Linked DNA regions of Homo sapiens: region 1 is linked to region 2. Evidence: promoter capture Hi-C in 16 types of primary human blood cells and fetal thymus (Javierre and others, 2016). All regions are on one chromosome and are shown on one strand. The core of a region is centred on a gene start or on the middle of the fragment in contact, and the rest is flanking DNA. Distances in the headings are between cores, read along the strand shown.

Region 1 (5,887 bases), core at 228-2,727, 190 kb after region 2:
AGTGCAAAACTCCCATACCAAGGTACATCCCCCTTCTATCTATAGGTGGAAGTACAACATCAATGCTTGTTGTCTGCATATATGCTATCCACATCAATGGAGTGTCTCATATTGTAGGTGTGTCAAGAATAATGCTTTAATACTCCACAGTTTTAACTCACATTTTGTTTCACCAAGCCAAGTGCAAAACACTTGAAGTGATATTACTATTTTTAAAAAACAACCTTGGGTAATTTGGAAAAGAAAGTGCACTTGCTGTTGCTTTTGTCATGATCCTTGTCTTTAAAAGTGCTGCTGGTGCAGTGTGTGTACCACTGTCCACCCTCCCTGCCTGTCCACCCTCCCTGCCTCCATGGACACATGTGCACGTAGGCACTCACGCAAAGGCTACTGTGTCCCACAGCAGATGAAAGCCGGGTTCTCAAGAGTAAACCAGGCAGGGAGTATATTAGCCATCCAAGCATGAGAAATGCCCAAGTGGAAACCAACATGAAGGCATCTTTGGGGCACATGGTTTGATGGTGTCACCCCAGTGAGTCCATCAGAAGTGCTGGAGATGAGTGCAGTGGGCTGAGAAACGCTGAGGGCCAGGGCCCAGGACCTGAGCCACAGTGTGGCTTTCTGCACTCAGCATACTCTTGGACAAGGGACTTAAGGTATTTGGGCCTCTGTTTTCTCGTATGTTAAAGAACGGTTTTATCAGAGCACTTCCAACTCTAACAGTCTAAGTTTCTAAGAATACAATGCAGAAAATGCCACTTCCACCCACCCTACAATCCTTCTTCTTTCTAAATTAATCATTTCTGCTATTTCCACCTCAAATGATGGTCACTATTCTCAATTCAACAGAAACTGCAAAAAACACACAGAATATTCAATTACTTTCAAGAAAAAAGGTCTGTCTAATCCTGTCATCAGAAATGATGACTTTTATTCCTTTTTTTTGTCCCAAGTTAAATCTCTGTGGATAGCTAATGTTCCATTTTCAAAGAACTATTAAAAAATCCATCTAAGTTTATCCAAACTGTGGGACGAAAGATGGAAAATACCAGTCCCATGGTACACATGAAGTCACTGGCCTATTTATAGCTCTCAACTGTAACCTAGGGATCACTTGACTCTATACCCCACGTAGAGATTTTCCATATATCATTTCCTTCTTCTGGACATGCTTCATAAACATGATCTGCTTCTGTAAACACCAAAGAAATAATATAGCAAATGGTTCTGTGGGAGATGCATAATAATCCAGGAAATGAAGGGGGCCACATCGTCTCCAGCAGTGAGTTCAAAATTTGATTTTGAAAATTCTGTTCAAACATGAATTGCTTCATGTTAACAGTAGTAACCTGAGCCACATTTGCTTTTCAGTCACAACGTGTTGCATTTGAAGCCAGGTTCATGTTTATGTCCCAGAAAGTGATTTCTTATTTATGTAAGTTGATTACAGGGAGACTTAGGTATTGAAGGTACATTTATTGAGCACATCGATTTTATGGAAGGAGTGAAGTAGAAAAGGGAAAGAGAAGAGGAGAAGGAAATACAGACCTGAGACAGTGATGTCTACACCTCAGGATCACAGTTGGTATCTACTGAGAGTACCAGACAGACTGACAGTAATGACAAAGGCATAACAAAGAGCTGCAGATGCACAGAGGAGGACATTGTGAAATTATATGGTGGCAGACAGAACAATGTCTCCCAAAGATGTCCACATCCTAACCTCTAGAGCCAGCAAATATGTAACCTTAGAAGGCAAAATATAATGTTACTTTACAAGGTTGCAAATACGATCAAGGTTGATGAACAGCTGATCTTGAGTTAGGGAGATTGTCCTAGACTGTCCAGGTGGGCCTAATGTAATAATATGGGTTGTTAAGAGTTAAAAAAAGAAGAGGCAAAGGAGCGGGTGAGTGAGACATAATGTAAGAGGGACTCAATCTGCCATTGTTGGCTTTAAAGGTGAAGGAAGCGGCCATGAGCCAAGAAATGTAAGTGGCCCCTGTGGAAAAGGCTTCTCTCCTAGAGCCTCCATAAGGAACACAGCCACACTGACACCTTGATTTTAGCCCAGCCAGAAGAATACTAAATGTCTGTTCTACAGAACTATAACATAATAAATGTTTTTAAGTCCCTAAGTTTGCAGTAATTTGCGACTGCAGCAATAAGAAACTAATACATATAGCAAGTGTGAAATATTTTCTTTTTTTTTTTTTTGAGATGGAGTTTCATTCCTGTTGCCCAGGCTGGAGTGCAATGGCGCGATCTCAGTTCACTACAACCTCCGCCTCCTGGGTTCAAGCGATTCTCCTGCCTCAGCCTCCCAAGTAGCTGGGATTACAGGCATGCGCCACCATGCCCGGCTAATTTTTGTATTTTTAGTAGAGACGGGGTTTCACCATGTTGGTCAGGCTAGTCTCAAACTCCTGACCTCAGGTGATCTGCCCGCCTTGGCCTCCCAACGTGCTGGGATTACAGGCATGTGCCACTGTGCCGGGCCGTGAAATACTTTCAATACTTTTAGGTCCTGTTTACTTGAGGCACCCGAACATTTTCACTCTTTATCCCACTAGCCCCAAGAGTTGATGCTAATTGGCACTGGGTTGAAATGAAGGAGACTGGCTTGCATCTGTGTGGTCCCAGAAAGTGGTCCTAGAGGACAATTTGTTGAATAAATGAATGGGTGATGAGTTTATAACAAGGAAGAGTACACACTTGGCCATCTGGGTAGAAAATGGTCTTGTCATGACCTCTCTGGAATGGAGACGACCATGGCTGGACCTAACAGGAATACAGCACCCTGGCATTTCTCCTCCTCTTTCTGCAAGACGTCTCCATCTCAGGCTCTGGTTACATCAGGGCTCCCCTAGGCTTGAAGGGCCGGTGGGATGGCAGCACAGTGTCATGTTTTATACACATTCAAGTTAATTTTCCTAAATTCAAACTCTCATGACAGATTTTGATAATTTTCTGTTGTATTCACTTTGCCAAGAACATAGAAAAGGGGGAGAAAATCTCTACTTTTTCCCACAGAGGATTAATCTTCCTAAACCTATAGAGTCATTTGAGTTCCTAATCCACAGGGTGTTTAAGGGAGGGTGGGAAAATATGCAAGATATTATTGCCTTTGCACCAAAGGGAAACCAACTCAGGTTTTCTCGAAAGGAGATGTAACCTTCTCCCCACTCTTTACCTTCTTCTCTTTCCCCGTCCCAAGGCATCCTGCCTGGCCTTCATAAAATGACTGCTGCAAGAGATGATCACAGAATAAAACAAACAAAACCACCACCACCAAGAAATCAAGAGACTTCAATGGCATTTAGCAGTCAACCACACCCCAAATTTTGCAAATGAAGAAGCATAGGCCCAAATATAACATGAAATTACATTAAAATTCTCAATAAAAGGAAAACAGAGATGAAAAAGCACAGACTTTCAGGCAAAAGAAACACAAGCTTTTTCCCCTCTGCCAAAACCAAAATTTCTCAATGATTTCAACAAACTGCCCACCCCAAAATAACTTGCAAAAAGCACTAACTCTTAAGATAATTTCCACACATTACTCTGGTATGGGGAAGTGATCAGTAGACCCATAGGAAGAAATTTTAAGACATTCTCCAAACTATAAGGAAATAAAATGATCCCATTCATCTAAACTGATATAAAATCTGAATTAAATAATATTTTAAGAGAAACATGATTTTATTATTTGCTAGTACTTGGAGTATCTCAAAAAGCTAACTGTGTTTACAATAATTGCCTTTCCATGGTCAGCTTAAATTATATGAAAAAGCCAATATTCAATAAAGATTTTAGTTAATTAATTAAAAAATTTATTTCAAGTTTTATTTTAGATTCAGGGGTACAAGTGCAGGTTTGTTACCAGGTATAATGTGCGATGCTGAGGTTTGGGGTGCAATCAATCCTGTCACCCCATTACTGAGTACAGTATTCAATAGTTTTTTCAACCCTTGCTCCCCTCCCTTCCTCTCCCTTCAATTATGATTTTTAAAAAAGTTTTAGTAAAATTGGAGGCAGAAAAAAACTTTCTTAATGCAGAAAATAATGTTTCAAGCTAAAAGACAACAGTATACTAATGGAAGCACTAGAGTGACACTTCCCAAATGTACGTGACCAAGGGATTTTTATTTATGTATCTATTAATAACTTGTGTGTACAAAGAATGCACTCTTGGAAACAGTACAAGAGGCATTTGTTTTTTAAAACACAAGTAAGACAAGGCTGTGCTGTTATCACAAGAATTCTTTGATACTGTTTTTGAATATCAAATTAATAAGACAAGCCAATTACAAAATATTGGTTAGAAGGAGAAAAATGATAATTTACACATTATATGATTGCTACCTAGAATACCCAAGAATCAGTCATGAACCGAGTAGAATAGTTAAAAAAAAAACAGGTTGTCAGTTTACAAAATAAACTCACATAAATCAAGATCTAACGTATCCCCAGTCAGAAAATGTAATGGAAAAAAAAATCCCATGCGCAAAAGAAAAAAAAAACCTCAAAACATTAATAACAAAAAACCCCACATAAGTTACACAGACATATATTCAACTAAAAATAGGTATAAAATCTATGAAGAAAATAAAAGTTTACTGAGGAGCATAAAAGACAATAAATACATAAACATTTCATTCTTGGAAGGAAAAATACAAGTTTAAAGATGCTTCTTTCTGAATTCATTAATTTAATATAATTTCAACAAAAATCACAATAGAAATTTTTTTAGAGATAGTGACCTTATAATTCTAAAGTTCAATTAGAGGGAAAAAATGTAAAAACATCACTAAGAAATTTTTGAAAATTAAGAATACCATGGGAAGTCTTGCATTACAAATTATTAAAATTAAAGCAAGGCATTACTAGCACAAAATTACAAAATAAGAGCAAAGATAAAAGCCTTAAGGGAACTATTAACAAATTTGACTATATAAAAGCTTGGGTCAAAAAAAAAAAAAAAAAACACAAAGTAAGGAAAAGTAAAAGTCTAATTTAAGAATGGAAAAGCATCTGCAACAAAAATGCAAGGCCCTAAATATATTAGTGCTTACAAATCAGACAGCAAAGGGTATTCATAAATAATAATACACATAAATCAATAAAAATCATCTGAAAAAGTCTAACTTACAATAATAATGCAAATTAAAGTGAAAACTAAGGCATTTTCACCTATCTAGCTGTTAAAACATTTTTAAAGGAGCAGTGCTTAGTACTCTTGAGGACTCGGAAAAACAGGGCTCCCCTAATTAGCGGGGGGACGTCTAAGATGGGATAACCATTTTTAAAGGTAATTTAGTAAAGTGCTAAAATGCACAGAACCCCTTAACTTGGTTTCCTGAGGTCATGGGCCAAGTTCCTTGTGTTCACTGCTGTATCCCTGCCTAACACAAACAGGTGCCCAGATTTATCTACTGAGGGAGAACATGTGGGGAGACAGGCATTCTGAGGCTGGAAAGCTGGAAACAAAGATACTGTTCCAGGCCATCTGGGTGCTGAACGCTTTCCGGCCCAAGTGACCTCGCTAAGGCTGAATTTGGGTCAATAAGCAGGAAGGGCATGGATGTCTGTAACATTTCCTATTCCAGGAGTAGACTGTGGGTTTAAATTCCTCTCTCATGGAAATGGAAGCCTGAGGGGAAAGGGCTTCGGCCTGGTGCCCCAGATTTGACCAGACTCTGCTTTGTATACCAGCCACTGTGTGTCCCCACTAGGGACTCTGAGGGCCAAGGGATGCCTGAGACATGCTGCATCTGCTCGGCATGGCCACCTGGCTTCTGGTAAGACAGCCTTCCCTTGACCAGGTAAATCAGGAGCTTTATCATAAAGTGTAGTTTCTTCCCACCCATCTATTAACTCATCTGAA
Region 2 (5,816 bases), core at 798-3,297:
CGGGAGGCTGAGGCAGGAGAATCACTTGAACCCAGGAGGCAGAGGTTGCAGTGAGCTGAGACTGAGCCACTGCACTCCAGCCTGGGCAACAAGAGGGAAACTCTGTCTCAAAAAAACAAAACAAAACACAACTCTGCTGACAACCCATGCTGTCCACACAGGCAGGGGTGGAAGCCCAATACGTGGCAGCTCAGATAGTGCACAGAAGCCAAGTAATAAATGTCTGCTTTCCTAGAGGAGATCTAAGGACCATCATGGCCACACTTGCCTATTTTTCCAGAGATGCTGGGAAATCCATTTTATTTTTTATTTTTATTTATTATTATTATTTTTTGAGACGGAGTCTTGCTCTGTCGCCCAGGCCGGAGTGCATTGGGCGATCTTGGCTTAATGCAACCTCTGCCTCCCGGGCTCAAGCGATTCTCCTGCCGCAGCCTCTGGAGTAGCTGGGATTACAGGCGCGCGACACCACGCCCGGCTAACTTTTCTTTATTTTCTTCTTCTTCTTCTTCTTTTTTTTTTTTTTTTGTATTTTTTAGTAGATACTGGGTTTCACCATGTTGGCCAGGTTAGTCTTGAACTCCGGACCTCAGGTGATCCACCTTCCTAGGCCTCCCAAAGTGCTGAGATTATGGGCATGAGCCACCGCGTCCTGCCAGGAAATCCATTTTCTAAGTCCTAACTTTTAAGCACTGGCAACCAATCCCAAAGTTTCTTCAAACACAATGTGGGCCAAATAACACGTGTGGGAAGTTCAAGCCTAAAGTACAAACTCCGGAGAGCAACACAAATATGGCTTGGACGTGGCCTGCCTCTTTCATCTCCCCTAATACATGCGGCGTACCAGCCACTCTGAAGGGATCCCCTTCCGCCTTCCTGGCCTTTGCCCAGACGGTTCCCTCCTCGTGAAACACCCTCTACCACTTCCTTGGCATCTTCAAGACCCTCATTAAATACCATGTCCTCCCCTTGAGGAATCTTCCTCATCCCCACAGCCATTCTTTGGGTTTCCTCCTTTCAAGCCGTGGCGTAACTGGGTCAGATATTTCTTTGTACCCCCCAAAGGAAGAAAGGGGAACTAATTTGAAGTTCTGAAGACTTTATCTATGTTATTCCCATTTAATCCTCACACCAGGTCCGCAAAATGGGCGTCACCTTTATCTTCTCCCTACAGAAAACAAAGCCACGTCTCAGAGAGGTTAGGGGAATCCCCCAAGGTCACACAGCTCTGCGGAGTGGGGCAGAATCTGGAATAAAGGTCGGGTCAGTTTCCAAAAGCCAGGGCCCCTGCTGCTCTAGCTATTCTGCAGCTCTGAAAGTTTCACCTCGTTCCAGGAAAGCATTTCGTTCAAAAAAATCCAGCCTTGAAAATATTAGGTGTGCGCGCGCCCGTGCGCGCAAACACACACACACAACACACACGCTATATACAGATACACACAGACACACACATTATGTGTATGTATATACTAGCAGATACCATCTATTAATATTACTGAAACAAGTTATCGCAGAGAAGTGACAAGCATGGAGACAGCCGCACACCCCTCGGAACCGGTCCCCTCCACCAGCCTGCCCTGCCTTCGCCCGTGCCTTGACCCGCAGTCGCACCGCAGGACAAAATGTCCCCTTTTCCTTCGGAAAGCAGAAGCCAGTGTAAATGCAACCGGGAGAACCAGAGAAGGGAGTTGCAAGGCCGCTTCCGCCGGGCCGCCCTGAGAAGGAGCGGGGTGAGCTAGTCCAGCGCGCGTACCCGGAGCGACCCCGGCGTGCGCGGCGCCTCCCTGCGCAGGCGTGCGGCGTGCGGCCCGCGGCGTGCGGCCCGCGGCTGTTCCCGGCGCGGATACTTACTGCGCGGCGGGGCGTGCAGGTCGCATCGATGTCGGTGCGCAGGCCACGGCGGCCGCAGAGTGGGGCCAACTCTGCCGGCCGCGGGACCCGGGTGAGGGTCTGGGCCTGGGCTGGGCTGGGTGACGCCAGGAGGCCGGCTACTGCGCGGCGCCCGAGAGTCCACATGCTGCTCCGGGTCTGCCGCCCGCTCCGCCCTCCAGCGCTGGGTGCTGCGGCGACCCCTGGTGGCCACTGGCCGCAGGCACTCTTCTGTGGGGGAGCAGCTAGAGGTTAGACCTCAGGAAGAACTTCCCAGCTTAGCACTATTCGTGCATTTAACAAAAATGGAGAGCCTGCTTTGTGCAAAGCACGGAGTGCAACCAGGACCCCTGACCCAAGGGAGACTGCAGCCTGGTGGCCCGCCGCTTCTAAAATTCTAAACAGGAGGAACTTGGGAGCTGCTGTCTTGCTGGGAAGTGGGTGCATGCACAAATTGAGGCTGCTTGGCCGCCGGTATGGGTTTACAGCAGTTGGGTATGTGGGGCCAGGAGACGGATGCCTTGTGTAAATCTGTACTCTGCCCACTTCCTAGCTGTGTGACCAGAGGGCAAGTTAATTAACCTCTCTGTGCCTTGTTTATAAAATGCGTTTTATAAAAGTTCCTACTTCATAGGATTGTGGTAAGGATAAAATGAGTTAAGCCCTGTAAAGTTTTTTTTGGACAGGGCATGTTCCTGTTAAGTGCACAATAAATATTGTTAATAGATTTTATTGATTGATTGATTGATTGAGACGGAGTCTCGCTCTGTCGCCCAGGCTGGAGGGCAGTGGTGCGATCTCGGCTCACTGCAAGCTCTGCCTCCCGGTTTCACGCCATTCTCCTGCCTCAGCCTCCCGAGTAACTGGGACTACAGGCGCCCGCCACCATGCCTGGCTAATTTTTTGTATTTTTTTTTTTTTTTAGTAGAGACGGGTTTCACCGTGTTAGCCAGGATGGTCTCGATCTACTGACCTCGTGATCCACCCGCCTCATTTATTTGTTTGTTTGAGACAGAGTCTCACTCTGTTGCCCAGGCTGGAGTGCAGTGGTGTGGTCCTGGCTTACTGCAACTTCTCCCTCCCGGGCTCAAGCAGTCTTCCCATTTCAGCCTTCCAAGTAGCTGGGACTACAGGTGTGCACCACCACACCCAGCTAGTTTTTGTATTTTTTGTAGAAAGGGGGTTTCGCTATGTTGCCCAGGGTGGTCTTGAACTTCTAGGCTCAAACGATCTGCCCGCCTGGGCCTCACAAAGTGCTGAGACGACAGGCGTGAGCCACCGTGCCTTGCCTATTGTTGATAGATTTTAAAAGAGAATTTTATTTCTGTTACATATTACAAAGGGATGCAAATTGTGAAAGTTTTCTTCACATTTTATATATGCTTTAGAGGATGTCAAATGTGAGCCGAGTGTGGTAGTGCATGCCTGTGATCTCAGCTACTCAGGAGGCTGAGGCGGGAGGATCACTTGAGCCTGGGAGCTCAAGGCTGCAGTGAGCTATGATTGTGCCTGTGAATAGCCACAGCATTCCAGCCCGGCCATCATAGCAAGATACTGTCTTAAAAAAAAAGAAAATGTCAGTTGTGTACACTTTCCATGGCAGAGAAGATGGGAAGGTACTAAAGTTCTTCCAAAGCCACTTTGTGAATCGTGAAGAGAGACATGTTTACATACTTAGGATGCTAAATGACAAGTGTCAAGAGGAATGTAAACTAACAGGTGTGAGTGTTGAGTGGGAGATTTATATAGAGCTAGGGATGGGGGAATCAAGGAAGTATTCATGGAAGAAGTGGTGTTGGCACAGGGCCTTCAAAAATAGGGTGGAGGAGGTGGGATCTGATTGCCTATCAAAGAGGTGGTCCAGGGCATTCTGGATGAGAGACATCCTTCTGTGTTTAATTAATTCTAGGCAGCTGCTTAAATACTGTTATGTATATGCCAGGCCTGGAGAAATCATTTTCCCCCTGCAAAGTATCTGGAGATGCTTTTGATTGTCACAACAGGCAGCTGTGGGGTGGGTATGTTCTACTGGCATCTAGTAGGTAGAGGCCAGGGATGAAACATCCTGTGATGTGCAGGACAGCCCCCCACCTGTGCAACAAAGAACTATCCAGTCCAAAATTCTGCCAAGATTGAGAAGCCCTCCTTGAAACCATAAAGGGAGAGCCCATAGGCATCAAAGGGTAGTGTTTTCATTGCCAGCCATGGTCTCAGACTCTGCCACACCAACAGTGAGGCCCTTCCTCACATCATCAGAACTGCATTATATACTCAGAGAGAGAAAGCTGCATCATTAGTTATTATTATTATTATTATTTGAGACAGAGTCTTGCTTTGTTGCCCAGGCTGGAATGCAGTGGTGCCATCTCTGCTCACTGCAATCTCCACCTCCTGGGTTCAAGAGATTCTGTCTCAGCCTCCAGAGTAGCTGGGATTGCAGGTGCCCACCACCACGCCTGGCTAATTTTTGTATTTTTAGTAGAGATGGGGTTTCATCATGTTGGCCAGGCTGGTCTCGAACTCCTGACCTCAGGTGATCCGCCCGCCTCGGCCGCCCAAAGTGCTGAGATTACAGGCGTGAGCCACCGCACCCTGTGCTACATCATTATTAGCTAGCATGCTTAGCAAGTTCTGGCATAGAAAGGTCACTAGCAAATGCTCCAGCTCCCTGCAAAGTTGATATCATTGCCCCATCTTTTTGGCCAAAGAAATAGACATAGAATAGCATATCAGAGAAGACGAAGGCTTCGCAAGAACTTGTCTTTCTCCACTTCCTTGGAGGTAGTCAAGAGGAATCAGGCACACTTGGTAAGAAGCTGGGGCACCGTGGCGTGGGCAAAGATGTTGAGGGACTCTGTGGTACACTGTAGCTGTTCCTCTCTTGGTTGCTTTTAGCCTCAAGTAGGCAGATCCTAATAGCTGTCAGGTTATGGGTAGGGGAGGATATCACCAGAATTCCCTTGCTCTGCCATTAGGATATTTTGATAGGATTTATCAGAGGGCTATGATTATCAAATGTGGTCGCTGGGCCAGCAGCCTCAGCATCACCTGGAAACTTGTTAGAAATACAAATTCTCAGGCCCTATTCTCGATCTACTGAATCAGAATCTCTGGGGTTTCAAGGCCCAGCAATCCATGGTTTAACAAGACCTCCAGGTGATTCTAATGTGCTTTAAAGTTTCAGAAGCACTGTGGTAGCATAGGCCTTGGGCAAAATTGTGAGTTAAGCCAGTGTCACCAGGGTGATCATTTTAAATCTAAAAATCTAAATCTCAAATGTGAATCTAACCATAGCCCTCTGCTTTCACCACCATCAAGATAAATTCCAACTTTCTTAGCATGACAGAGGAAGCTCTCTTGCCCACCTTAGCTCTCCCAGCGCCCTTACCACTCTCTTCTGTACACCCCACTCTGCATATTGGGAGGCATCTAGACATCTTTGCTTCTTCAAGCTATTTGTAGTTCCTAGAACAAGTGATGCTTTTTCCCTCTCTGGCTATCCCTCATGTTGTTCCTTAGTCTTCCATCCCTTTGCCTGGTATGGAAGATTGGATCTTCCAAAGAAGGCCACACCAATATTTGTCACATGTCATATGCTGTTTGGGACTTTGACATTCCTGTCACCCAGGGATGTTATCTATTCTCCTCCCTTCGAATTCGGGTTTGGGCTACAACTATTCCAACCAACAGGGTACTGCAGAAGTGCTGCTTGGTGACTTCCAAGTCCAGGTCATAAAAATGATGCATCTTCCTTCTAACTCCCTCTCTCTCTCTTTTTTTTTTTTTTGGGTTTTTGTTTGTTTGAAACAGAGTCTCATTCTGTTACCCAGGCTGAAATGCAGTGGTGTGGTCATAGCTCACAGCAGCCTTGACCTCCTGGAATCAAGTGATCCTCCTGCCTCAGCCTCCTAAGTAACTGGGACTATAGGTGTGCATAACCACACCTG

Evidence for each region. Contacts are between HindIII fragments. The CHiCAGO score rates a contact against its expected background, and 5 or more counts as called.
Region 1: a contact is called between a fragment that was not itself captured here and the fragment with the promoter of FXN in region 2, in 2 of 17 cell types (erythroblasts and megakaryocytes). The highest score is 6.6, in erythroblasts.

Annotation. Positions count from the first base shown.
Region 1 is chr9:68,836,708-68,842,594 of GRCh38, reverse strand. The region is part of intron 4 of PIP5K1B (phosphatidylinositol-4-phosphate 5-kinase type 1 beta); the gene reads right to left. Among named protein-coding and RNA genes, the nearest start is that of PABIR1, 60 kb to the right of the region's middle. The HindIII fragment of the contact is 3,961 bases long and covers 1-3,457 here.
Region 2 is chr9:69,031,983-69,037,798 of GRCh38, reverse strand. FXN (frataxin) reads right to left here and starts at 2,047. Exons shown (of 5, transcript NM_000144.5): 1 at 1,852-2,047. The coding sequence starts at 2,016. RefSeq lists silencers at 812-1,106, 1,689-2,158 and an enhancer at 1,479-1,528. The HindIII fragment of the contact is 18,212 bases long and covers 1-5,816 here.